7 separate regions of the Homo sapiens genome follow, and all the other regions are linked to region 2. The links are contacts of gene promoters, found by promoter capture Hi-C in blood cells and fetal thymus (Javierre and others, 2016). All regions are on one chromosome and are shown on one strand. The core of a region is centred on a gene start or on the middle of the fragment in contact, and the rest is flanking DNA. Distances in the headings are between cores, read along the strand shown. Region 1 holds the start of LUC7L3 (LUC7 like 3 pre-mRNA splicing factor). Region 2 holds the start of NME1 (NME/NM23 nucleoside diphosphate kinase 1). Region 3 has its middle 21 kb from the start of WFIKKN2. Region 4 overlaps ANKRD40CL (ANKRD40 C-terminal like). Region 5 overlaps ANKRD40 (ankyrin repeat domain 40). Region 6 has its middle 14 kb from the start of MIR8059. Region 7 has its middle 29 kb from the start of MIR8059.

What was found. The method cuts DNA at HindIII sites, captures the fragments that hold promoters and counts their contacts. A CHiCAGO score of 5 or more calls a contact.
Region 1: a contact is called between the fragment with the promoter of LUC7L3 here and the fragment with the promoter of NME1 in region 2, in 3 of 17 cell types (monocytes, fetal thymus and naive CD8 T cells). The highest score is 7.4, in monocytes.
Region 3: a contact is called between a fragment that was not itself captured here and the fragment with the promoter of NME1 in region 2, in 1 of 17 cell types (total CD8 T cells). The highest score is 5.0, in total CD8 T cells.
Region 4: a fragment that was not itself captured here is called in contact with the fragment with the promoter of NME1 in region 2 in 3 of 17 cell types (monocytes, total B cells and fetal thymus); the score reaches 9.8 in monocytes.
Region 5: a contact is called between a fragment that was not itself captured here and the fragment with the promoter of NME1 in region 2, in 2 of 17 cell types (non-activated CD4 T cells and naive CD4 T cells). The highest score is 6.9, in non-activated CD4 T cells.
Region 6: a contact is called between a fragment that was not itself captured here and the fragment with the promoter of NME1 in region 2, in 7 of 17 cell types (neutrophils, naive CD8 T cells, total B cells and 4 more). The highest score is 11.6, in neutrophils.
Region 7: a fragment that was not itself captured here is called in contact with the fragment with the promoter of NME1 in region 2 in 1 of 17 cell types (neutrophils); the score reaches 5.1 in neutrophils.

What each region holds. Positions count from the first base shown.
Region 1 is chr17:50,717,517-50,721,455 of GRCh38, forward strand. It overlaps LUC7L3 (LUC7 like 3 pre-mRNA splicing factor), which reads left to right and starts at 2,087. Exons shown (of 10, transcript NM_016424.5): 1 at 2,087-2,315. The coding sequence starts at 2,217. RefSeq lists silencers at 1,794-2,023, 2,364-2,423 and an enhancer at 2,054-2,193. The HindIII fragment of the contact is 10,215 bases long and covers 1-3,939 here.
Region 2 is chr17:51,151,239-51,155,251 of GRCh38, forward strand. It overlaps NME1 (NME/NM23 nucleoside diphosphate kinase 1), which reads left to right and starts at 2,321. Exons shown (of 5, transcript NM_000269.3): 1 at 2,321-2,424. NME1-NME2 (NME1-NME2 readthrough) reads left to right here and starts at 2,321. Exons shown (of 9, transcript NR_037149.2): 1 at 2,321-2,424; 2 at 2,987-3,206. RefSeq lists enhancers at 1,634-2,833, 1,857-2,388, 2,172-2,591, 3,988-4,013. The HindIII fragment of the contact is 18,411 bases long and covers 1-3,606 here.
Region 3 is chr17:50,812,555-50,816,508 of GRCh38, forward strand. No RefSeq gene overlaps it. Among named protein-coding and RNA genes, the nearest start is that of WFIKKN2, 21 kb to the right of the region's middle. The HindIII fragment of the contact is 422 bases long and covers 2,491-2,912 here.
Region 4 is chr17:50,761,507-50,765,267 of GRCh38, forward strand. ANKRD40CL (ANKRD40 C-terminal like) reads right to left here. Exons shown (of 4, transcript NM_001358683.3): 3 at 1,891-2,051. Among named protein-coding and RNA genes, the nearest start is that of ANKRD40CL, 4.1 kb to the right of the region's middle. The HindIII fragment of the contact is 1,184 bases long and covers 1,107-2,290 here.
Region 5 is chr17:50,700,790-50,704,404 of GRCh38, forward strand. All of the region lies in intron 1 of ANKRD40 (ankyrin repeat domain 40), which reads right to left. Among named protein-coding and RNA genes, the nearest start is that of ANKRD40, 5.3 kb to the right of the region's middle. The HindIII fragment of the contact is 327 bases long and covers 1,873-2,199 here.
Region 6 is chr17:50,780,383-50,784,239 of GRCh38, forward strand. No RefSeq gene overlaps it. Among named protein-coding and RNA genes, the nearest start is that of MIR8059, 14 kb to the left of the region's middle. The HindIII fragment of the contact is 5,194 bases long and covers 1-3,847 here.
Region 7 is chr17:50,795,733-50,799,594 of GRCh38, forward strand. No RefSeq gene overlaps it. Among named protein-coding and RNA genes, the nearest start is that of MIR8059, 29 kb to the left of the region's middle. RefSeq lists enhancers at 2,853-3,403, 3,404-3,862. The HindIII fragment of the contact is 8,240 bases long and covers 1-3,862 here.

The DNA of each region.
Region 1 (3,939 bases), core at 837-3,336, 430 kb before region 2:
TTGTTATGTTGCCCAGGCAGGTCTTAAACTCCTGGCCTCAAGCTATCTCCCTGCCTCTGCCTCCCTAAAGTAGTGGGATTATGGCGTGAGCCACCATGTCTAGCCTCTAATTTCCTATCTTCAAAAAGGCTCCAGCCCCACTTGGTGGCTCACGCCTGTAATCCCAGCACTTTGGGAACTTTGGGAGGTCGAGGCAGGTGGATCACCTGAGGTCAGGAGTTTGAGATCAGCCTGGCCAACATGGCGAAACTCCGTCTCTACTAAAAGTACAAAAATTAGCTGGGCGTGGTGGCGGGTGCTTGTAATCCCAGCTACTCAGGAGGCTGCGGCAGGATAAACTTGAACCCGGGAGGCAGAGGTTGCAGTGAGCCAAGATGGTACCACTGCACTCCAGCCTGAGCGATAGCTCAAAAAAAAAAAAAAAAAAAAAAAAAGGCTTCATGTCCCATACCTCCTTTGAGTTCTCACCCTATTTTGCTGCTTTCCTTCTTAAAAAGAGGTGTCCACGACCGGGCGCGGTGGTTCACGCCTGTAATCCCAACACTTTGGGAGGCTGAGGTGGGTGGATTATTTGAGCTCAGGAGTTCAAGACCAGCCTGGGCAACTTGGCGAAACCCCGTCTCTACCAAAAATACAAAAACTTAGCCGGGCGTGGTGGCATGCGCCTGTAGTCCCAGCTACTGGGGAGGTTGAGGCGAGGGGGTCGCCTGAGCCCGGGAGGTTGAAGCTGCAGTGAGCTGAGATCGTGCCATTGCACTCCAGCCTGGGTGACAGGGCCAGACCCAGTCCCCCCAAAAATAAAAGTGTTGGGCTTGTTATCAATGTGTAGTGCCTTACATTGTATAAACTCATTTAATCTTCACAATAGCATCGTGGCTGGGGGCCGGGGGAGGACTATTGTAAACCCCATTTTACAGAAAAGGAAACAAAGGCACAGAGCGGCAGAGCTGGGATTACGAACCCAGGCAATCTGGCTTTAGAGACCATACCCTTAACTGTGCTAAAGCATTATCCCAACATACGTTGATATATTTGTGACTTTATTTCTTCAGCGATTATCTCCCCTCGCCAATGCACAGGTCTGCGGGAGCATGGACTGTCTGAAAGGTTCTGAGTTTAGCTTTAAGCACAGTGCCTGGCACATACCATTTGTTGAATAAATGGATCTACCTATCTATATATATGTGTGTGTGTGTGTGTGTATGTGTGTGTGTGTGTGTGTGTGTATATATATATATATATATATATATATTTTTTTTTTTTTTTTTTTTTTTTTTGAGATGGAGTTTTGCTCTTGTTGTCCAGACTGGAGTGCAATGGCGCGATCTCGGCTCACCGCGACCTCCGCCTCCCGGGTTCAAGCGATTCTCCAGCCTCAGCCCCCTGAGTAGTTGGGATTACAGGCATGCGCCACCACGCCAACCTAATTTTGTATTTTTAGTGGAGACGGGGTTTCTCCATGTTGGTCAGGCTGATCTCGAACTCCCGACCTCAGGTGATCCGCCCGCTTCGGCCTCCCAAAGTGCTGTGATTACAGGCGTGAGCCACCTCACCTGGCCTACTGGATCAATATCTTTTTAAAAAATTCCACACTGGGAGACATTTGGTGTAGGACTGAATCCCCGTATTTTAGAAGCCGCCTTGTCTCTTCTTGCCTCGATTTCCCATCCTGTTAATCAGGAGACTCAGGGCGGGAGGACAAAGCCAGGTGCAAGAGGCGTGAGCACAGCGACTAGGAAAATGGAGTCGGAAGCCGTAATCTTCAGTTTCCTCCGCTGCATGAGGCACCATGTGCACCACGTGGACTAAAGGAGACACTTTCTCCATTTTGAAGCGGTGTCCAGGCTTCAAGACCTAGGCTCCAATTTCTCACCGTGAAGAAGCTCGGGAAAACCGGGCGCTTGGGGAGGCGCGCGGGCAGAGGCTACCCGTCCCCGCGGCCTCTAGACAGGGGCGGAGTCCCTACCCGGCCTCCGCGGGCCCCGCCCCCGGACGGCGGAAGCCGAGCTCGCCCTCTCCGCCCGGGCCTGGGCGTGTCCCACGGGCGCACGGCATGCTGGGAAGGCGTCCGCGCGGCGGCCATTTTGTCTTGTCGGCTCCTGTGTGTAGGAGGGATTTCGGCCTGAGAGCGGGCCGAGGAGATTGGCGACGGTGTCGCCCGTGTTTTCGTTGGCGGGTGCCTGGGCTGGTGGGAACAGCCGCCCGAAGGAAGCACCATGATTTCGGCCGCGCAGTTGTTGGATGAGTTAATGGGCCGGGACCGAAACCTAGCCCCGGACGAGAAGCGCAGCAACGTGCGGTGGGACCACGAGAGCGTAAGTCCCGCGGGCCTTGGCCTGAGCCCGGGCTCCGTGGGGGAGGGGAGCGGGCGCGGGCTGTGGCCCTCCTGGCCGCGGCGCGATGTGGCCAGGGCCGCACCCGGGGTCGAGCGTCTGACCCGGTGCCCATGGAGCCAGGAGGGAGGATGCTGTCCGGACCCGGGGATGGGGGTGATTTGGTTTTGTTGTTCTAGTATCAAGGGGGTCCGGGAGAGCCCTTGGCATAATTGAAAAGCACCTTGATGAGGCGGGGAAACGCGGGAAAGAAGGATAGCAGCGTCTTATTAAATCTAGCGGCTCCGAGGTTTCACCTCATTATGAAATAGGGAGAAGGGCACATTTTTCTATAGTTTGGGTTGAACGTCGTATTTAGACTAAAATTTCTGACCAGGATTCATGGTAAAAATCGTGGCGGTATTTTATTTAAGTAATTACAGCATGACGCTTATACGGGGAAATAGAAATGTAAAAGAAGTCGTTTACTTGTTAGGGTTTACCGTGATGATTTACAAGTATTGTTCGTTAACAGTATTCTAAGAAGTCCCTTATAGAGGCAGCTGTCAAGGTTTTTTCTTCCACATAAAACTCATTTGATGCTCTTAGCCCGGGGAGTAAAGGTAAATATTATAACCCCAGTTTCACTGGTGAGACTTAAAAAGGCTCACCCAAAGTCTTGGCAACTGAGGAAACTAATCTTTGTAGTTCTGTTAGCTTTCCACAATCCTATGAAACTGGTTCTCTGCACCTACTGTAGCATTTCAAGTGTTTTGATCTAGTTTTGAACATGCAGTGTAATGTTTACTTTAGGTCTTATCTGGAGAATAGATACAGAATTTAATTTTACTTTGAGGTTATAATCTAACATGCTAATTTTAAAACAATTGCTAATCAAAATAGGAAGGAATAGTTCAGGTAATGCATGCTTCTTTAGAAAACTGTTTTCTTACTCTTTTTAAACGTAGGCTTTGGTTAAGGTAAAATTTCTTTTTTGCAGTGTAGGAAAGCAAGTTGGTGCTAGATGACTCCTTTTAGGACTTTAAGAAAGAGTAAGTTTGGCTCAAGTTGTGTTGGGGTGCTAACTGATTCCAAAGTAGTATGAAACATTCTTAGAGTAGAATTTATTGTTTTTAAGAGGTGGGTTTTTTGTTTTTAACATTTAGGCTCCCCATCCCCCCGACCATTTGTCACAATAGGAGACTAAGGAACTGCTTACCTTGACCATCTTTCTTTTGTAGGCATCTTTGTTATAGCGAAGTAACTTTTTTTTTTTTTAACTACCTGACTCTGTAACCTTTCAGTCTAAACTTTGCAAATGTGTTAGGAATAACGCTCAAAATCCTAAGTAAGGTAAAAAACCAAAACATTATGGCGATTTGGCTTATGTTCAATAGGTTATTTGTATATTTTGAATTCAAGAGAAAAATGCTTTCCATTGCACTCCTTATCAGTTGGAACAGCCTTGTATCTCTGCACCCTTGACTTTGAACACGTTTTAGAGAAACTGTTTTCTTTCCCGGGGTAATTTGTTGCCACATTGCATTGTATGTGATGGGTTTATGACTCTTCAATGATGAGGCCCTCAGAATAGCAATTTAGGTTTTATGTCATCTCAGCCGTAATC
Region 2 (4,013 bases), core at 1,071-3,570:
TAGCTTGTTTTTTCGTCCTCTTCAAAAGGTCTTTCACAGGACAAAGGTTTTAAATTTCTTTTCTGCAGGGCACAGTGGCTCACGCCTATAATCCCAGCACTCTGTGAGGCCAAGGTGGGCGGATCACCTGAGGTCAGGAGTTTGAGACCAGCCTGGCCAACATGGTGAAACCCCGTCTCTACTAAAAATACAAAAATTAGCCGGGCGTGGTGGTGCACGCCTGTAGTCCCAGCTACTCGGGAGGCTGAGGCAGGAGAATCACTTGAACGTGGGAGGCAGAGGTTGCAGTGAGCTGAGATCCGCCAAGGCACTCCAGCCTGGGTGACAGAGCAAGACTGCATCTCAATAAATAAATAAACAAATAAATAAATAAAGGCCGAGCACGGTGGCTCATGCCTGTAATCCCTGCACTTTGGTAGGCCGAGGCAGATGGAACACTTGAGGTCAGGAGTTCGATACCAGCCTGGCCAGCATAGTGAAAACCCGTCTCTACTAAAAATACAAAAATTAGGGCCAGGCGCGGTGGCTCATGCCTGTAATCTCAGCACTTTGGGAGGCTGAGGCGGGCGGATCACGAGGTCAAGAGTTTGAGACCAACCTGGCCAACATGGTGAAACCCCGTCTCTCCTAAAAATACAAAAAGTAGCCGGGTGTGGTGGTGGGCACCTGTAATCCCAGCTGCTCGGGAGGCTGGGGCAGGAGATTCGCTTGAACCCGGGAGGCGGAGGTTGCAGTGAGCCGAGATCGCACCACTGCACTCCACCCTGGGCGACCTGGCAAGGCTCCGTCTCAAAAAAAAAAAAAAAAAAAGAAAAAGAAAATACCGGGCGTGGTGGCAGACGCCTGTAGTCCCAGCTACGCGGGAAGCTGAGTCACGAGAATCGCTTGAACCCGGATGGCGGAGTTTGCAATGAACCGACATCGTGCAACTGCGCTCCGGCCTGGGCGCCAAAGCGATACTCGGTCTCAAAAAGAAAAAAAAGAAAACAGGAGAATAATGAAATTTTACTTATTTATTTTATTTATTTTTTATTTTTTTGAGACCGAGTCTCGCTCTGTCACCCAGGCTGGAGTGCCCTGGCGCAATCTCGGCTCACTGCAACCTCTGCCTCCCGGGTTCAAGCGATTCTCCTGCCTCAGCCTCCCGAGTAGCTGGGACTACAGGCGCCTGCAACCACGCCCGGCTCATTTTTGTATGTTTAGTAGAGACGGGGTTTCACTATGTTGCCCGGGCTGGTCTCGAATTCCTGAGCTCAAGTGATCCTCCCGCCGCTGCTTTCCAGCGTGCTGGGATTACAGGCGTGAGCCACCGCGCTCGGCCAAAAGTTTTAAATTTCAGTAAGTTCCAATTTATCAACTTTTTCCCTGTATAGATTGGTCTTTTGGTGTCGTCTAAAAACTATTTGCCTGGCCCTAGGTCCTGAGGATTTTTTTTAACTTTTTTTTTCCCCATAAGTGATTTATTGTTTTACATTTAAATCTATGATTCATTTTGAGTAAATTTTGTATAAGGTGAGAGGTTTAGGTTGAGGTTCTTTGGGTCTATATTCGTCCAATTGCTCCAGCATCATTTGTTGAAACGGCTCCTGATTCCATTTTTGTACCTTTCCCCCGTTCATTTCCCCTTAGAGCAGTGGGAATGTTTTTTTGTTAGTGATGATGTCATGCCTTGTGCAAAATCTGTATTAGCATCTCACAACATAAGATTTGGCTCTATTCTAACGGCATTTTCCACCACTCGATGTCCACCGTAATACTTGGCTCTCGAAGAATCACTGGGCTGGCTCCCTCACTTCATGCAGGTCTATTCTATTATCACTTACTCAGAGATTTCTCTGGCCTTTTCTTCACAGCACTTACAAAATGCGATCTATTACATATTAATTTGCTTATTTGCTTCTTGTTTTCCTATACTCCCATCCCTCCCAGAAGCTCCAAGAGAGCATACTGTTTTATCCCTAGGGCCTAGAATAATGCGTCCACGTAGTAGGTACTCAAAATTTTTTGCTTGACAGGCTAGAAAAGGTGAATAAACACAAAGCGGGAGCGAAAAGTCTACTTCTAGGTCAGGCACTCTTTGGACTTCACGCAACGTGTGAGCGCCACCTCTCGGGAAGCCAATTTGCTCGCGAACGAAGGAAGTGAGTCAGAGAACCCGGGGGTGGAGAGAAGAAAGCAAGCAGCTAACCGGAAAGGTCTGAAAAAGCTAGCGCCGGAAGTTAAACTGCAGAAAGTTGTTCCCTAGAATGACTGCCTACTCCCAAGAGGAAGCGTGGGCGAGCGGTGTTCTGCAAAATGGGCTCTCCGGCAGCGGATCTGCGCAGAAGCGTTCCGTGCGTGCAAGTGCTGCGAACCACGTGGGTCCCGGGCGCGTTTCGGGTGCTGGCGGCTGCAGCCGGAGTTCAAACCTAAGCAGCTGGAAGGGTAAGAGGTGTTCGGGATCCTGAGAGGAAAAAGAAAGGAGTGTAGTCGCGGGAGTGGGTTAGGTGAGGAGTTAGTGAAGAGATGAGTTCAGCTCTAAGAGGCGGCGAGGAGGATCGGATGGGAGGAGGGGCAGGGAGCGCCTGTGGACAAGTGCAGACCGGTCGGCGCACGTCCCACGCCACGTGGACTCGCCTTTGTCGGTGGCCGCCTTTCTCGTCAGGCCGCGACGACAGGGCTGTGCCTTATTTGTGTCTGTCGAGAGCAGTGCCGGGCACGGAGTTGGCGCTCTGTAAGTGCTTGCTGAATAAATGACGGGTGTGTGTGTCATTCATTCAGCAAGCACTGAGTGCTTACTGTTGTGTCACCGGGACCGATGTGGAGGGACATTTTTAGGGTGTATTTCTGGCGCTTTAGTCCTGTTTTCTCCTGGACAATTTATGCTTGCCCCGCACCCCATCGTGCGATTCTCCGCAGTCTTTGGGCTTTGTCTCTCTCTCTTTTTTTTTTTTTGGAAGTTGCAGAATGGTGATAAATGATTTTCTTTGCTCCTATTGACTGCTAGGCCCTGTGGCTAGGTACCATAGAGTCTCTACACAGGACTAAGTCAGCCTGGTGTGCAGGGGAGGCAGACACACAAACAGAAAATTGGACTACAGTGCTAAGATGCTGTAAGAAGAGGTTAACTAAAGGACAGGAAGATGGGGCCAAGAGATGGTGCTACTGTCTACTTTAGGGATCGTCTTTCAAGGCGAGGGGCCTCCTATCTCAAGCTGTGATACAGGGTAGGTCATGAGCGCAGTCTTCTGTAAAATGAGGGATCTGGACGGAATAGTTACTCTCTAGGCTTCCTTTCAGTATGATGTCCCGTATCAGATATTCCTAATGTCTGTAGTTCTCCCACACCCCACCGTTTATTGGCTAGTCAAAATATTCTTTGCATTGTAAAGTGTAGCATAACATTACAAGAATGGATTAATGGGTTGGGAATGCTGGGTTTTGGCCTTCATTCTGGTGCTGTGGTCCTGTTTCCTCATTTGTAAAATGAAGGGGGTTGTAAAGATATATTCTCTAAAACCCCTAATGCTATGGCTGTGGCATTAAGTCAAACTATTATTTCTTACTGCTTTGTACCGGACATCACTTTCACATTAGTAAAACTTTTCATCAGTGTAGTTTCTCCCAAGCTTGATTATTGAGAAAGATAGTGCCTTGTTTTTAACATCCTGTATCCTAGTTCCACCGCAGTGTTTGGTACACAGTAGATGTTTAAAAGAAGCTTATTAAATCAAATGGTGGCCAGGCTCATGGGGCTCACGCCTTTAATCCCAGCACTTTGGGAGGCTGAGGTGGGCAGATTACTTGAGGTCAGGAGTTGGAGACCAGCCTGGCCAACATGGTGAAACCCCATCTCTAGTAAAAAAAAATACAGAAATTAGCTGGGTGTGGTGGCACGCACCTGTAGTCCCAGCTATTTAGGAGGTTGAGGTAGGAGAATTGCTTGCCTGGGAAGTGGAGGTTGCAGTGAGCCAAGGTCGCACCACTGCACTCCATCCTGGGCGAAAGAGCAAGACTCCATACCAAAAAAAAAA
Region 3 (3,954 bases), core at 1,452-3,951, 340 kb before region 2:
GGAGGGTGATGGATATGTTTGGAGCCAGGCAGAGGCAGTGGTTGTACAACACTGTGACTGTACGAAATACCATTGAATTCTTCACTTCATTTATTCATTTATTTAGACAGAATCTTGCTCTGTTGCCCAGGCTTGAGTGCAGTGTCATGATCTCGGCTCACTGCAACCTCTGCCTCCTGGGTTCAAGCAATTGTCCTGCCTCAGCCTCCCTAGTAGCTGGGACTACAGGTGCATGCCACCACACCTGGCTAATTTTTGTATTTTTAGTAGAGACGGGGTTTTGCTATGTAGGCCAGGCTGGTCTCGATCTCCTGACCCCAGGTGATCCGCCCACCTTGGCCTCCCAAAGTGCTGGGATTACAGGTGTGAGCCACTCTGCCCGGCCACGAATTGTTCACTTTAAAATGGCTGATTTTACGTTGTGTGAATTTCACCTCAACTAAAACAATTAATTCATTTTTTCTTCTCCAACAAAAATGTGTGGCATTGTGGCCTGTGCTTTGCGTGCTGTTAGCTGTCACAGGACATGCTGATGAGGAAGGTGCATGCGATGCTGGCCCCTGCAGGGCGTATGTTCCAGTGGGAAACAGACAAGAACAAGCAATGGAGCAGTAGGTCTTGGCACAGATGAGGTGGCGAATACATATTTATTAAATAAAATAGAGACAGATATGGGAGCTCATAGGTGGTCAACAACCCAGTCCGAAGGTCGCAGAAGATTTCCTGGAGAAAGTGGTATCTGAACCAAGACCCAGCAGAGGTTAGAAGTCAGTGGCAGGAAAAACCCCCAGGGGTGGGTGAGAGTTTGGCGGATTCCAGGAACTGAAGGATGCCCAGTATGGCGTGGAACTGTGTCCAACAGGGCGAGGGGTGTGACACGGAGCTGGAGAAGTAGGCAGGAACCAGATCAAGAGGACTTTTGAATGATGCTAACTAACGGCTGTTAGTGTAGGCATCCCTTCTGCTGACGGTATGCTCACTCTCATTCCTTTTCTAGTTCCAGCCAGGTAGTAGAAGAATTAGGAAGGGATGAGTCTTGAGTATTTATTATCTTCATGTGAGTAAAATTCATTATAGATGGGTGAATGAGTGGATGGATAGATGATAGATAGATAGGTAGGTAGATGATAGATACATAGATACATAGATAGATGCATAGATATATAGATTAGATAAATACATAGATTAGATAGATGATAGATTAGATAGATAGATGACAGATAATAGGTAGATAATAGATGATAGGTGATAGATTAGATAGATAGATGATGGATAGACAGATGATAGATTAGATAGATAGATAATAGATAGATGATAGATTAGATAGATGAAGTATAGATGACAGATTAGATAGATAGATGATAGATAAGAGACAGATGATAGATAGATTAGATAGATGATGGATAGATAGATGATAGATTAGAATAGATAGATAGATAGATAGATAGATAGATAGATAGATAGATAGAATAACTGCTGCAGCCATGTTGTGACCATGAGGAGAGAGACAAGGCAACATGGCCAGGAGGAGGTGGCAGCTCCCACAGAGAGGCCTGGTCACATCCATCATCTTGGAGCAGATCCCTGGGAGGAGGAGGAGAAGGAAGATGAAGCTAAGAGGCCCTGGGGTTGGTCCTCAGGGGAAGACTATGACTCCTGGTGACAGAGATGCTGGAGCCAGAGGGCAGAGGGATGAGTAGGGGAGCCAATCCCAGACAGGGCAATGGCATAATAAACTAATTCGTAACAAGCAAGACAGAGAGAAGACAGGCAACAGATATTTTAGAGGCACCACCAGTAGGATCTGGTGGCCTCTTGGATAGGGAGGAGGAAGAAAGGAGGATTCATAGATTTTCCTGCAATAAGGAATTTGCTGCTGAGTGCAGTGGTTCATGCCTGTAATCCCAGCACCTTGGGAGGCCAAGGCGGGTGACTCGCTTGGGCCCCAGAGTTTGAAACCAGCATGGACGACCTGGCAAAACCCCATCTCTACAAAAAAATAGAAAAATTAGCTGGGTGTGGTGGTACGTGCCTGTAGTCCCAGCTATTTGGGAGGCTGAGGTGGGAGGATTACCTGAGTCCTAGTGAGTCGAGGCTGCAGTGAGCTTGCCTACACTAGATACTTCAGATAAGTGGAATCTTGCAGTCTTTGTCCTTTGTGTCTGACTTCTTTCACTTAGCATAATATTTTCAAGGTTCACCTATGTTGGCTGGATGTAGTGACTCATGCCTGCACTTTGAGAGGCTGAGAGGGAGGATCACTTGAGGCCGGGAGTTCAAGACCAGTCTGGGCAACATTGCAAGACCACATCTCTACAAAAAAGAAAAGAAAATTAAAAAGGTTTCATCCCTGTTGTAGTATATATCAGAACTTCATTCCTTTTTAAGGCTAAATAATATTCCATTGTCTGGATATACCACATTTGTTTATTCATTCATCCGTTGATGGACGCTTGAGTTGTTTCTCCCTATTGGCTCATTGTTGAAAGAAGCTTGGTACAGGTTGCCCCAAGTTTGACAACAAATCCTAAACAACCCTAAACATTTTCACGGCATTAGTAATATGAATTGCAAAGGTGAAAAAAAGTATTAAATTCTCATAATAAAAAGAAAAATAGAATTGATTATTTTTCTTTTTTTCTATAAAAATTCATATTACAAAATCATTATAATATGAAAAGGCAATCAAAGAGTAGGTAGTCAAAATGTAGGAAGGAAAGGATTATAGTCAGGCACTTAATTATAAGAATATTATGTTAATTTTCTAGATTTGCTGAGGTGGGTGTTATCAGTTTTTAAAAATGTGTAATTTGTGATTTTTTTCATATTCTAAAAACTTGAACGCACACTTTTACTTGTAAGTTTATATTATTTTTCATAAGGAGAGCCTGCCCATCTCCCAATACTGTATAAGCTTTTGGCACTGCACCTGGATCCCCTCTGCCAACCCGGGGTCCACAACTCTGCCCTCCTCTATCCACTTCCTAGCAGCGTTAACCAAAGCATGGCCACTTCCTCCTTCTCTAAGTGCTTTGTCTCCTTGCCTTCTGTGATTCCACCATCTCCTGGCTTTCCTCCTATTCACCGGCTGCTGGATTTCCTCTTCTTTGCTTGTTTCCTCCTTCTCTAGACCTCTAAATGTAGCAGTATCCTGGGCCTTGGGACAGGTCCTTTTCTTCACCCACCTGGTGACAGTGCCAAGGCCATGGCTGTAAATATCTTTCTTTTGTTTTGAGGCAGGGTCTTGCTCTGTCACCCAGGCTGGAGTGCAGTGGCGTGGTCACAGCTCAACCTCTTGGGTTCAAGTGATTCTCCCACCTTAGCCTCCCAAGTAGCAGGTGCACACCACCAGGCCTGGCTAATATTTAAATATTTTTGTAGAGACGGAGTCTCACCTGAGGCTGCAGTGAGCAGCCTATCTCAAAAATAAATAAATAAAAAATTAGTATCTTTTTTTTTTTTTGAGATGGAGTTTCACTCTTGTTGCCCAGGCTAGAGTGCAATGGTGCAATCTCAGCTCACTGCAAACTCTGCCTCCTGGCTTCAAGCAATTCTTCTGCCTCAGCCTCCGAGTAGCTGGGATTACAGGTGCTCATCACCACACCTGGCTAATTTTGTATATTTAGTAGAGATAGGCCATGTTGGCCAGGCTGGTCTTCAACTTCTGACCTCTGGTGATCTGCCCTCCTCAGCCTCCCAAACTGCTGGGATTATAGGCATGAGCCACTGTGCTCAGTCAAAAATTCACATCTTGAATTTAGCTTTGTCCAAATAGAATCTTCACTCCTCCCCTTTCCACACCTGTTCCTCCCCGCTTCTTCCTTGTCTCTGGAGCAGCACGGAATGGGTGTTCAACGTGGTTTGTTGATGGTCAATGGCTGGGAGGGACAGTGGTACTTCCTGTTTCTGAGGGCTATGGCCGCTGACCTGGTTTGGGGAACTGACTGCCCCTGG
Region 4 (3,761 bases), core at 449-2,948, 390 kb before region 2:
CTTAATGTAGAAAAGAAATTATATTATGCTTAATAAATTTGAATGTAATAGAAAACCTTAATATTAATATTGTTCAGCATCTTGGGTTCTGAACCCATAAGGTATTGTTTTTTTTGAGACAGAGTCTTGCTTTTGTCGCCCAGGCTGGAGGGCAATGATGCGATCTTGGCTCACTGCAACCTCCGCCTCCCAGGTTCAAGTGATTCTCCTGCCTCACTTGGCTCACTGCAACCTCAGCCTCCTGAGTAGCTGGGATTCAGACATGCGCCATCATGCCCGGCTAATTTTTGTATTTTTTATAGAGACAGTTTTCACCATGTTGGCCAGGCTGGTCTTGAACTCCTGACTTCAGGTGATCTGCCCACCTGGGCCTCCCAAAATGCTGGGATTACAGGTGTGAGCCACTGCGCCCGGTCCCCATAAGATAGTTCTGTATTTTTTTTTTTGAGACAGGGTCTCGCTCTGTCACCTAACCTGGAGTGCAGTGGCACAGTCACAGCTCACTGCAGCTTCAACCTCCTAGGCTCAAGCAATCCTTCCACTTCCACTGCAGCCTCCCAAGTCTACTACACCCAGCTAATTTTTGTATTTTCCTGTAGAGACAGGGTTTCACCATGTTGCCCAGGCTGGTCTCAAATTCCTGAGCTCAAGCAATCCGCCCACCTCGGCCTCCCAAAGTGCTGGGATTACAAGCATGAGACACCACACCCAGCAGATTTTTGTTGTTAAGGTATCTGGAAAGCATGATCATCCCTTGACATGTTAGTTTACAAAGAATATACACTATAAGCCAAGACACCAGTAAGGATTGCCAAAGGAACAGCAGCTCACCACCTGTTATCCCAGCACTTAGGAGGATGAGGCCAGGGGGTTGAGAACAGCCTGGGCAATATAGCCAGACCCATTTCAAAAAAAAGAAATTAATGGAGTGTGGTGGTGTGTCCCTGTAGTCCCAACTACTCTGGAGGCTAAGATGGGAGGATCACTTGAGCTGAGGATTTCGAGGCTGCAGTGAGCTATGATCACGCCATTGCATTCTATTGTGGGTGACAGAGACCCTGTCTCAAAAAAACAAAAAACAAAAAAATTGCCAAAGGAATTTTGAAAGCTTTAAAGAAAAATTTCCAAAGAAATAAGATTTCCTTTCCAAAATTAAAAATTAAGATCTGTATTTTAAATCTGGGAAATATATAAAAATGCAAAACAATTTTTGTTTGCTAATATTTCAAATACTTAGCAAACCCACCCTTTGCTAAGCAAACAAGGATGGGTTTGTGTTTTTTTTTTTCCTGAGGACTATGCCATTTTATGTTAACCAGTCAATTTTGCAGAGATTGGTGGGGCCAAAAGCACTGAACTAAAGCCTTAAATTGGGGAGTCACTTGTCATTCAGAGGTTTGTTTTTTTTTGAGACAGGGTCTAGCTCTGTCGCCAGGCTGGAGTGCAGTGGTGCTATCTCAGCTCACTGCAACCTCCTCCTCCTGGGTTCAAGCAATTCTCCTGCCTCAGCCTCCTGAGTAGCTGGGATTACAGGCACGCGCTGCCATGCCCAGCTAATTTTTGTATTTTTAGTAGAGACGGGTTTTCACCGTGTTGGCCAGGATAGTCTCGATCTCTTGACCTTGTGATCTGCCCACCTCGGCCTCCCAAAGTGCTGGGATTGTACTGGTGTGAGCCACCGTGATCGGACCATTTAGAGGTTTTTAAAAGGTTTATGGATTAGATGTGCAAATCTTAAAAGCGCCAGATTGAAAATGACCTAGCTACCATGTTTGGCCGTTTTGCAGCCAGGATTTCTGGTGTCATGAAATGCAGAAGTGTAAACGATTGGCTCCAGAGAACATGATGTCACCCACTGTGATTCTGCATTTAGAAACTCTTAACCCTTACCTTTCTGAGCAGTGTGTTTGGTAGCTTTCTGATCTTCTCCACTCGTTCTGGTTTAATCCCCAGTTCACAGCAACTCACGTTTAGTAGGTTTTGGTAACTCAGTTCTTGTCTCTTCAGTTCAATTTCAATGAAGTCATTTTCTTTGGGGTTCTGAATTCTGACTTTAAACACAAGCTCTAAATCACCCATAAATTCAAATACAGTTTGTAAAGGAAACAAAATACCTGTCAGAGATTTTCATATCTATTATTACAGCATAAATAATCCTAAAAACTGAATGTTAAGTAGACATGGAGCTTTCATGGGCACATACACACTTTGCATTAGCTGAGGGTTCTTTTCTTGGAGTGTTGGGCAAGCTCTGGGATGTATGCCCCCATTATATCCACTGAAGACAGAAAGCTTGCAGCTTTAAGCCAGCCAAGGATTTAAAATATGCAATGGATATTTAAACACATCACCCTTGGGCAATACATAGCAGGTGCTCATACCTTGTTGCTTATCTGGAAAGCTTCAGGGAAATGTATAGCCCTGGGGGCCCTGGTGTCCTTAAAGAAGCTATTGTGCAGAGGAGCAAATCGCTCTTGAGATTCCTACCCACCACCCCCACTCCTCCAGAAATAGGATAATTCTACCATCTTTCAGGACAGTGGCATTGTATTCCAACTTAACTGTCCTGAGAAGATACAGTATGAACTAAAAGTCCAAATGGAAAGCAGATGGTCAGTTTGGCTTTGCAACCTGGTCACATAGGGGCTGAGTCTTCACCTAGACAGGTGTCACTGGGTTTCTTGTTATCACTTGGGTCCGTTGTTGGCAAGTGTGGATTTGTGCCTTCTTGTTTATATTCACCTGGGAATCAGGAAAGAGTTGAGAAGGAGCAGTACCTGACCAGTTGGCTGTCTGCCAGACAAAGGACAAGGATGCCCCACTTCCACTTCCTGCCCTGCAGCTTATCCTCCCCTTCTCAAGGGAAAAGGCAAGTCAGGAAAAGGGCAGTAATGACTTTCAGTCTTGAAGAGTAATTTTCTTTAATCACCACCCAAATCATGAAAAGGAGCTGAGACAGTATTTTTAAATGGTGCGTAATCTGGGGAAGAAATATTTATAATCTCTGTGCTTAGCTCAAGTTTTTACTTAAATATTTTTGGCACAGAGTGCTTTATGTCTTCAGTTCTCTAGCAGAGATACAGTTAGGAGGGTGTCTTTATAAGGAGAAATTTTCTCACCCAGAGGGAAGGGAAAGGAGTGAATATTTAGAGTGCTTTGCATATGCCAGGCCTTTTGTGTATTTCTTTCTTTCTTACAATATCCACTGAACATGTTGAAAGCCTGCTTTGCACCAGGCACTGGGCTAAGCCCTGGGGAAATCATGTTCAAAAATCCCAAAGATGTCTCTGTGCTCCTGGAGTTTGCAGGCCAGCAGAAGAGACAGATATTAATAAATGGGAAATCACAGTTGTCGGGGCATGATGAATGTGAAATACACAGTACTTTGAAAGCATGTTAGGGGTCAAGGGAGGCCTCCATGAAGGTTGATTATTTGAGCTGACATCTGAAGGATGAATAGGCTTCACTAGATCCAGAGGGCAGAGGAGGTGAAGAGCTTTTCACAGGGCCCTGTGGAGAGTTCAGCATGGCTGCAGGGCAGAGAGCATGGGGGGACTGAGTGTCAGACAGGCTGGCAGGGGCCAGTTAGTCCAATTATGTAGCTTCTTGTCACATGAGATAAGATACACGATAAGGTAAAATATACCCTGGATTTTGGAGGCAATAAAAAATTTTCATACTTATATGTTGACATAATGATTTGCATATAGCGGGCAAAGTATATTATTAAAATTAGTTTCACCTGTTTTTACTTTTTAAAA
Region 5 (3,615 bases), core at 786-3,285, 450 kb before region 2:
AATGTATAAACAAGCCTGTTAGAGTTCAGCTAGAACCAGGTAACCGGGCTGGTAATCTCAACTTTTCACAAAGCCGATGAGCAAAATATTTAATATGCTTAAATTTTGTTTTTAAATTTCATTTCTGGCTCCTGAGAAAAACTAACTTAACCTAGGAGTTTTAATTTCAATAGCCTCCAGAAGGTAAGCTCACTGGCTGGCTAACTCCAATGATACCGTGGAATATACTCTATCAGTATCGCTCATTAGATCATCTCAGTCTCTGAAACATATTTTTCTATTGCTATATTCCTTTTCAGGGACTATGGAAACTCACTTCATATGCCACCTGAAGATTCAATATTATCAGGATAATAACCATCTCCTATCAGCAGCTTGCTCTGTCACTTAAATTATTATTATGACAGCAGATATTCTTGCCTGAATCCCAGTTGCTCACTTTCTTTTTCCTTCTTACTTTTCTTTCCTTAACACACACACAAAGGATTTCCAAATTTCCATTTTTAAAAAGTTGGCTTCTCTAGTTCTCTCCAGAAGGCTACAAACATATCCTCATCTGCGTAAATGTAAGGCACTGCACACATACTTTAATTCCTGAGGTACTTAAAAAATATACATCAACAACCAAAATTCTTCACGAACAGGTTCTTCTAACATATCAGACTCATTTAAGTAAAACTAATCACTCAATATTGTACACAGAGGAAGCAATTCTGCACACTCTGAAGGGCTACTATTTTAATACTGTACAGAAACATAATTAGCATGCCAGCAAAAACTCCATCTTAACAGAAATGAAAGATTCAGAGCAACTAAATCCATCCCTAGGTGCCAGAGCTGACTGTATATTATGGAAGGAAAATACTTTTCGCCTGTGTTTTGAAAGGTCTTCTTTCACCAACTCTCTAACTGAACTGAGATACATATCTTCAGAGCTCTTATAGCCAAATACAGAAATGAAGATTAGAACAAATGTTCAATATTGAAGGTTAGTTCACTAACCTGGGAAGTATAATTATTTGGAAAGTTTATATGATTCCAGGAAAAAGCTGATTTGCCCTGGGCTTAACATTAGTAACTTACAGAAAGTTAGCATGTCTGGCTGGCTGGGAGCAATTCCATTGATGTCTCAGAGTGACATTCTACATTATGGTTCATTAGAATTAGATTATCCAGGTTCCTTTAAGGTGTATTCCATGATGCAATGACAAAATTATTGCTAATTTGGGAAAAATAAGAGTCTCGTTAAGTTTGGGAGAGAAGAGTCTTGATCAAGCTCCCTGAAGGCAAGGAAGTGTTTGCTTGGCATGTATTAATTAATATTTACTGAATGGGCCAGGCACGGTGGCTCACACCTGTAATCCCAGCACTTAGGGAGGCCAAGGCAGGTGGATCACTTTAGGTCGGGAGTTTGAGACCAGCCTGCCCAATAGGGTGAAACCCCATCTCTACTAAAAATACAAAAATTAGTGTGATGGTGCATGTCTGTAATCCCAGCTACTGGGGAGGCTGAGGCAGGAGAATTGCTTGAACCCAGGAGGTGGAGGTTGCAGCGAGCCAAGATTGTGCCACTGCACTTCAGCCTGGGCAACACAGCAAGACTCCATCTCAAAAAAAAAAAAAGTACCAAATGAGTAAACTAAGGATAAAGTGGACCTTGCTTGAAGTAGAAGGATCCAATCTACCCTTGATTCTGGGCAAACTGGAACCTTGAGTGTGTTTGTGTGTGGATGTCTGTGGCACAGGCTTAAAAAGTGAACAATTATAATGATAAGTGAGCCCTCAAAAATGAATGAAGCATGATGAGAAAAATATGCTCCCTTTTGGAAATAAAATGCTCACTTGCTAGTAGTAGATCACTTGTTCGTGGCAAGCTTGAGAGTAAAGGAGGTAATTTACTACCAGTGGGTCTGAGAGACTCTGGGACAAACCAACTTGCTAAACTACCACCCATGTAAAGCAGGGTTAAGTCAACATAGCGTGGCCCCCACAGCCCTGTGCCTTAGTGATCATCATTTACCGTCCAGAGCTGTGCGGCTCTGGGCAGCCATAACTCAGAGCCCCTGCAGCCAGGTAATATTTTCAAGTTCTTCATGAACCAAGGGTTATGCATGACACTTGAATTACAACTGATGTGGGGGAATGATTAGTGATCAATCTAATTGATAGATTACTCTATCTTTGAACTTCAACTCCTTAAGCTTTACATTTGCAGTCAAAATATCTTATTAGTGTCAGAAACTATTTCAGACCTGAGGCACTGGGTGTCATTCATCAACAGGGCATCACTCATTGGTGCTGAAATTGTGATTACTGAGCAACTAAGACTTGAAAGCAGTCACCATTCTGCTTTGCAAATGCAAGAGAGTACGTTTTTTTGAGGGTAACCTTATATTCCATTATCTAGCATATTGCTTCATAATAAGAAAACAACAACAATGGCTAATACAGGTATAATGCTTTACGTGTTGGACATTGTTCTAAAGGCATTACATGTATTAACTTATTTAATCCTCTAAACCCATGAGGTAATACTACTGTCAACATTCCCCCCATTTTACAGAAGAGGAAACAGACATCAGCAAATAAATAAGCAAAGCACGCAGTACGCTAGGTGGTGATGAAGTATGACAGCAATAGTAAAGCAGGGAAAGGCATTAGGGAATGACAGAGGTTGGAAAGGGGCATTGTGCAACTTTAAATTGAGGGCCCAGGAAAAGCCTTGCCAAGAAGGTGACATCTAAACTAAAATCTGAAGGTGGTGAGGAAGCAAACCATGTGATATCTGGAGGGAAAGCATTTAAGAGAGTGGGAAGACAAAACGCAAAGATCTTGAATCAGGACTGTCTGGTATTCCAGAGAAAGCAAGGAGGCCAGGGGAAAAAGGTAAGCAGAAGGGCAAATCCCATGAGATTAGCACAGAGGTAAGGAGGGAAGATGTGGGGACAGGAAGTAGAAATTGTAGGACCCTGTAGGCTTTTACTGAGTGAGATAGGAGCCATTTTTGAGCAGAGTGAAATGATCTGACTTATGTTTTAAGTCAGGATCCCTCTGACCACTGTGTTAATTAAGAAGACTGTATGATATAAGCTTAGGAGCAAGGACACTAGTAGGAGGCTATTGTAATAATCCAAGCAAGAGAAACAATGGTGGCTTTGTATCAGAGGTGTAGTGGTAGGGTTAGTGAGAAGTAGTCAGATTCTGACTGTATCTGAAGGTGGAGCTCATAGAATTGGCTGACTGGATGTCGGCTATGAAAGACAGGAGGCAAGCAGGAGGCAAGCAGGGTGCCAAGGGTTCTGGCCTGAGCACTCCTGAGAGGCTGAGGACTCAGAGGAGCAGGCTTGAGGTGGTAGAGGGATGAGGGGAGACTTGGAATTCAATCTTGGACATGTTGAGTTTGAGGGGCCTATTAGACAGTTCCTCCAATTAAATCTACAAGAGGCCGGGCGCGGTGGCTCACGCCTATAATCCCAGCACTTTGGGAGGCCGAGGCGGGCAGATCACCTGAGGTCAGGAGTTCGAGACCAGCTTGGCTAACATGGTGAAACCCCATTTCTACTAAAAATACAAAAAACTAGCCAGGCGTGGTGGCACACACCTGTAATCCTAGTT
Region 6 (3,857 bases), core at 1-2,500, 370 kb before region 2:
ACCATGCCCGGTAATTTTTTTTTGTATTTTTAGTAGAGATGGGGGTTCACTATGTGTTTGTTTGTTTTTTTTGAGACAGTCTCACTGTCACCCCGGCTGGAGTGCAGTGGCACAATCTCGGTTCACCGCAATCTCTGCCTCCCGGGTTCAAGTGATTCTTGTGCCTCAGGCTTCCAAGTAGCTAGGATTACAGGCGTGTGCCACCATGCCTGGCTAATTTTTTTTGTATTTTTAGTAGAGACAGAGTTTCGCCATGTTGGCCAGGCTGGTCTTGGACTCCTGATCTCAAGTGATCCACCTGCCTCAGCCTCCCAAAGTGCTGGGATTACAGGTGTGATCCACCATGCCTGGCCTTTATTAATTATTATTATTATTATTTGAGACGGAGTCTTGCTCTGTTGCCCAGGCTGGAGTGCAATGGTGCAATCTTTGCTCTCTGCAAGCTCTGCCTCCTGGGTTCAAAGCGATTCTCCTGCCTCAGCCTCCCGAGTAGCTGGGATTACAGGGGCGTGCCACCATGCCCGGCTAATTTTTTGTATTTTTAGTAGAGACCGGGTTTCACTATGTTGGCCAGGCTGGTCTGGAACTCTTAACCTCGTGATCCGCCCGCCTCAGCCTCCCAAAGTGCTGGGATTACAGGCGTAAGCCACCGTGCCTGGCCCTATGTTTATTATTATTATTATTATTTTGCACTGGCGTTGGATTTTATTGCGAGAACAGACTAAAGAGAGCAATGTGTCAGAAGCGCTGCTCAGCCACAGCCTCTTGGGTGGCATGGGAACAGAGCGGACGCATTACGGAAACCCAGTTCTTGGGCAAAAGATAAGGAAGCGAAGGGCCTCACTGGAAATCTCCTGGCTTCTGGGTGTCCAGGGTGGCTGTCCCAGGCAGGCGACGGTCTTCTTGGCGGCCAGGCTGCGTATGCGTCACGAGGAAGCCTCCAGATGGAGCGCGGCCGCCAAGGCGCAGTAGCAGGGCGACGACGCTCCGAGAGGTCCCCATCGTCAGACCCCTCTGGCTTCCATGGCGCGTCTTCAAACCCGGCCGATCCCGGCGAGTGTGGCGGCCGCGCAGCGCAGTGGCGAATTCGATCTTCTGGGTCTCCGGGTGGTTCCCACTGGGGCTCTCGCGCCGTCTCTCTGGAGCCAAAGGCCCCCCTCACACGGCTTTCGCCAGTGCATCGCTTTTCCCAGCGGAAGTTCACAGAGACAGGGGGATTGAGAAGGTCTATTTTTTATTTGTCTTTTAAACTGTAGCTATACCAGTGAGTGTGAAGTGGTATCTTATTTTGGTTTTGATTTGCATTTCCCTAATGACTAGTGATGTTGAACATCTCTTCTTGTGTTTATTGGCCATTTGCATGTCTTCTTTAGAGAAACATCTATTCAAATCATTTGCCTATTTTATTTTATTTTATTTTATTTTATTTTATTTTATTTTATTTTATTTTATTTGAGACGGAGTCTCACTCTGTCGCCCAGGCTGAAGCGCAGTGATGTGATCTTGGCTCACTGCAACCTCCGCCTTCCGGGCTGAAGTGATCCTCCCGCTTCAGCCTCTCGAATAGCTGGGATTACAGGCTCGTGCCACTGTGTCAGGCTAATTTTTGTATTTTTAGTAGAGATGGGGTTTCACCATGTTGGCCAGGCTGTCTAGGACTCCTGACGTCAAGTGTTCTGCCTGCCTTGACCTCCCAAAGTGCTGGGATTACAGGCATGAGCCACCGAGCCTGGCCTTTGCCTATTTTAAAATTGGGTTGTCTTCTTATTGAGTTGTAAGAGCCTTTTTACATATTCTGGTTACAAGTCCCTGATCAGGTATATGATTTATGAATATTTTCTCCCATTCTGTGGATTGTCTCTTCACTTTCTTGATGTGCACTTTTTTTTTTTTTTTTTTTTTTTTTTTTGAGACAGAGTCTCGCTCTGTTGCCCAGGCTGGAGTGCAGTGGCTCCATCTCGGCTCACTGCAAGCTCCGCCTCCCGGGTTCACGCCATTCTCCTGCCTCAGCCTCCCAGGTAGCTGGGACTACAGGCACCTGCCACCACTCCCGGCTAATTTTTTGTATTTTTAGTAGAGACCGGGTTTCACCGTGTTAGCCAGGATGGTCTTGATCTCCTGACCTCGTGACGCCCGCCTTGGCCTCCCAAAGTGCTGGGATTACAGGCGTGAGCCACCGCGCCCGGCCTATGTGTTTTACATTATGTTACTTGGTGCACGTTTTATTTTCTGGGGTCTTTCCCTTTTAGCAGTACAAAGAGATCCGTCGTGTTTCATATAATTTTTTGAGCTTCATGTCATGACCTTGGTTTTCTTTTGGTTCGCATGTGCCTGGATATCTTTGCCCTTTTTTTTTTTTTTTTTTTTTTTTTTTTTTTTTTTGCGATGGAGTCTTGGTCTGTCGCCCAGGCTGGAGCGCAGTGGTGGGAACTTGGCTCACTGCAACCTCTGCCTTCCGGGTTCAAGCGATTCTCCTGCCTCAGCCTCCCAGGTAGCTGGGATTACAGGCATGTGCCATGATGCCCCACTAATTTGTTTGCATTTTTAGTAGAGATGGGGTTTCACCATGCTGGCCAGGCTGGTCTCGAACTCCTGACCTCAAGTGATCTGCCCACCTCGGCCTCCCAAAGTGCTGGGATTACAGACATGAGCCACCGCGCCCAGCGGGCCCGTTTTAAAAGTCGATATCATTTCCCACCTGTATCTTGTGAGCATAGTCAACGCTCAGTGAAGGTCAGCTTCCTTCCTCTTGCCTGTCCTCATGAAATGCCCCTTCCCATACCGCCCCCGCGCCCCAGGAGTAGCCTTTGCTGTCCCAGGACTGAGCTCCAACATGGGAGCCCCTCTCAATACCTCCTCTTGAGCCTGCCCCTTTCCTTCCCTGCCATTCCCATGCAAGGCCACTGGGCAGGGCAGGTCCGCACCACCGAGTTGCCATTCTCCGTGTGTCCACCAGGGGCCGCCCCACTCCTGCCTGAGCTTCCTCCAAGAACCTGCATTTTTAATTCAGTCCCTCCCTGGTCTCCCATCTCTCCCAGCACCACCTTTGGGTGTAAAGCCGCAGAGCAGTATTCCTGGTTATCCAAGGAGTCCATAAACTGTCCTGTGGGAAATCAGCCCAATGCACCCTGGCTCCCTCATTCAGCAACTGTGTTGTAGTTTTCTTGTCTGCAAAAAGAAAATAATAATTTCCACCTCACTTAGAAAGAATATGTAGGCTGGGCATGGTGGCTCATGCCTGTAATCCCAGCAATTTGGGAGACCAAGGCGGGCGGATCACTTGAGGCCAGCAGTTTGAGACCAGCCTGGGCAACATGGCGAAACACCGTCTCTAGTGAAAATACAAAAATTAGCCAGGCGTTGTGACACATACCTATGATCCCAGTTACTCCAGAGGCTGAGCTTGCAGTGAGCTGAGACCGCACCACTGCACTCCAACCTGGGCAACCAAGTGAGACCCTGTCTCAAAAACAAAACAAAACAAACAAAAACAGAAAGAAATAATATATAGTTCGGGAGCCTGAGGCACGAGAATCACCTGAACCTGGGAGATGGAGGTTGCAGTGAGCTGAGATGGCACCACTGCACTCCAGCCTGGGCAACAGAGTGAGACTGTCCAAAAAGAAAAAGAAAAAGAAAAGAAAAGAAAAAAGAAAAATAAATAATATATAGTGTTCAGCAATGTGCCTGGTATACAGTAGGTGCCTAATAAAAGCAAGTCACTTTACAAGAGTTCAAAGTCCGTCCCTCCACAACTCTCCCTAAAGCTCTCCAGGCCTGTCTGTTTTCTTAGGTAATGGGTTGGCACCCAGGTTACATGGGGGTGAGATCTCCTTGTAGGGGCACAAGCTTCATGG
Region 7 (3,862 bases), core at 793-3,292, 360 kb before region 2:
TAGGAGGCCAAGGCAGGTGGATCACTTGAGGTCAGGAGTTTGAGACCAGCCTGGCCAACATGGTGAAACCCCATCTCTACTGAAAATACAAAAACTAGCCAGGTGTCATGGTGTGTGCCTGTAATTCCAGCTACTCAGGAGGCTGAGGCAGGAGAATTGCTTGAACCTGGGAGGCGGAGGTTGCAATGAGCTGAGATCACACCACTGCATTCCAGCCTGGGTGACAGAGCGACACTCCGTCTCAAAAAAAAAAGAATAGGCCGGGCGCAGTGGCTCACGCCTGTAATCCCAGCACTTCAGGAGGCTGAGGCGGGTGGATCACAAGGTCAGCAGTTCAAGACCAGCCTGGCCAACATGGTGAAACCCCGTCTCTACTAAAAATACAAAAATTAGCCAGGCATGGTAGCAGGTGCCTGTAATCCCAGCTACTCCGGAGGCTGAGGCAGGAGAATCGCTTGAACCTGGGAGGCGGAGGTTGCAGTGAGCCGAGACCGTGCCATTGCACCCCAGCCTGGGCGACAGAGCAAGACTCCGTCTCAAAAAAAAAAAAAAAAAAAAAGGAATGTGGTTGACGGAGAGAGAAGTGTCTTAGTCTGTCTTATGCTGCAATAACAGAGTACCTGAGACTGGATAATTATGAGGAACAGGGATTTATTTCTTATAGTTCTGGAAGCTGGGAAGTCTAATATTGAGGGGCCGGCATCTGGTGAGGGCCTTCTTGCCACATCATCTGACAGTGGAAGGGCAAGAGAGGTAGAGACAGAGAGAGAAAGGGGCCAACTTCATCCTGTTATAAGGAACTCACTCCCACTGAGATAACAGCATTAGCTCTTTCTTGAGGGCAGAACTTCCTGGCATAATCACGTCTCATTAGGCCCTACCTCAACACTGTTGCATTGGGGATTAAGTTTCCAACACATGTTTTTGGGAGTACACATTCAAACCACAGTGAGAAGAAACTCTAGATACGTATGTATACATACATACATAAATATATGTACTTTTTTTTGAGACAGGGTCTCACTCTGTCACCCAGGCTGGAGTGCAGTGGGGGTGATCATAGCTCGCTGCAGCCTCAGCTTCCTGGGTTCAGGCAATTCTCCCACCTCAGCCTCCTGAGTAGCTGATACTACTGGCATGCACGCCACCACACCTGGCTGGTTTTTTTTGTTTTGTTTTGTTTTGTAGAGATGAAGTCTCACTATGTTGACCAGGCTGGTCTCAAACCCCTGGGCCCAAGGTCCACCCACCTCAGCCTCCCCAGGTGCTAGGGTTACATGCATGAGCCACTGAGCTCAGCCAAACACTATATATATATAATATAAAAATATATATGTACAGAGGCAAAGGCTTAAAAAATAATTTAAAAAGTATATCTATATTTTTCCCAAACTAAAAAGGATGTGTCAATTGAGGCCAAGAGGATGCAAACAATCCAAAGACCAAAAGCCTATTATTTAATTAACTTCCTTTCTTTGCTTGTTAGATGAGATTTGGATTTGATGTGTCTGTTTTCTTGGCCCTGGTCTGCTCATGAAAGCCTTCTACAGGGGGAAGCTGTGGGCAGGTTCCTATAGCGACTCTTTGGGAGAACTCTCACAGGGCTGAGTAATTGCTTAGTTCTGCCTGCTTCGTTCCCTTCTGCTTCATAGGTACTACAAAATAGTTGTTGTCCACAGTGGTGAGCCCCGCAGTGAGTGAAAACAAGTTCTGGAAGTTCAGTGTGCTGTCTTGGCACTGGTCCATGTCCTTCATTGTTATGTCTGCAGCCAGAGGGTCTTTTTGATTCTCCAAAAATCCAAGGAACTCCTTTCCCATGAGTACTTTCAGGCCCTCCTTCATTAAGTAGCCTTTATCCCCGGCAAATCTGTGAAACGTAAACAACACGGTTTCCATGGTGTGTTCCATTGGACTGGGGTTGTTCGTGAGATCTGTTGAAACCTTGGCTGGAGGTGCGTTGTGGGCGCTTGGCAAGCTGGGCCTCAGGGCCCCTCGGGAAGGAGCAGTATTAAGAACTTGTTTTGCTATCTCAAGGACAAAAAAACAAACACCGCATGTTCTCACTCATAGGTGGGAATTGAACAATGAGAACACTTGGACACAGGAAGGGGAACATCACACACCGGAGCCTGTTGTGGGGTGGGGGGAGGGGGGAGGGATAGCATTAGGAGATATACCTAATGTAAATGACGAGTTAATGGGTGCAGCACACCAGCATGGCACATGTATACATATGTAACAAACCTGCACGTTGTGCACATGTACCCTAGAACTTAAAGTATTAAAAAAAAAAAAAAGAACTTGTTTTGCAAAGGAGCCCTGGGTCAGGCACAGGGTCTGAGGCTGGCCTTGTGAGGGCCCCTTTCCTTGTGGGGACAGGCCACCACACCACACGGCAGATGCAGCTCAGGGCAAGATGCAAGGTGGCAGGACCCAGGAGAGATGCTCAGTCCAAAGTGGAGCGGTGTTCAGGGGCTCTGGGCTGGGAGATTTACGTGGGGGTCTTAACTTCTTGAAGTCATGAACCCCTCTGAGAACAAGGCAAGAGCTAAGGCTTGAGAGCAATGTAGGCAGCCGTACGCGCTATTTCACTCCAGCCTCGGGGCTCTCATGGACCTCCTGAGGCTGGCCCGTGGGACCCAGGGAAAGAGCCTCGGCCTTGCAGAGTCTCTTACAACCTTGACTAGCTGCCTCCCACAACCCTGCTGGGATCACTACCTTACAAAGGAGGAAATAGATGCCATGTAGAACTTGCTTGGAGTCACACAGCTACAAGTGTGACGCCTGAATTTGAAGGCAGGTGTGTCTGACTGTCCTGTTCCCTTAGCGGTTCAGCACGGGGCCTCTTCAGCCGTCCCAAGGCATCCCCAACACAGAAGGCGTCTAGGGAAGGGGTCAGGGGAGGGTTCAGGGAGGAGGGGATGTCTGGGCTCAGCAGGTGGCATGGCCATGGGAGCCTCAGGGCTAGGGAGAACCCAAGGCTGGGAGAGAGGCAGGGCCTTGCTCAGGACGTGGCAGAGACAGGGGTGAGCTCAGGCGGAAGCCCGAGCTGTCAGGCAGCCCTGAGTGGCCGGAGCGGAGTGGTGGACCCAGGAGTGGGGAGACGCCTCATCCAGCAGCCCACGGTCTGTTTCCTTCTACCCCTGGATCAGGAGAGAGCAGGAGGCCTGACGTTAGCTAGACTTCCCTCTGCCTAGCATTGTCATTACTCAGCCTTTGCTTTTCTTGGCCTCACAAGCAAGGCTGGGGACAGGAACGAATATGACAGTGTCTCAATCACCATAGGGAGTCAGAGGCATTTCCCTCTAATCTGAGGCCTCCCCGTCTGAGGCCCTGTGTATTTGCTTCTAGAGCTGCCTTAACTAAGTACCACACACTAGGCAGCTGCAAACAACAGAAGGGTATTGCTTCACGGTTCTGGAGGCCAGGAGTCTGGAATTCAGGTGTGGACGGGCCTGCTCCCTCCAAGCCTGGAGGGGGAAGACTTCTTGCCTCTTTTCTGGCTTCCGGTGGTTGCCAGTCCTCCTGGCAGGCCCAGACTTGCGGCTGCCTCCCCGAAGTCTCCGCGTCTTCTTTCTTTCACACAGAGCAGGAGCATATGTCTGTCTCTCTGTCTCTTCTCTTCTTTCATAAGGACACTAGTCCTATTGGATTAAGAACCCACCCTACACTCCAGTATGACCTCACCTTTGCTAATTTCATCTGCAACAATCCTATTTTCAAATACGTCACATTCTGAGATACTAGGGGTTAGGTCTTGAGCATATCTTGTGATAGGAACATGGTCCTACCCATAACACCCTGTGGGGTAATTTACCTTTCCCTAAGAAGCTCTGACCCTGAACACCCTTGGACTGTGGCA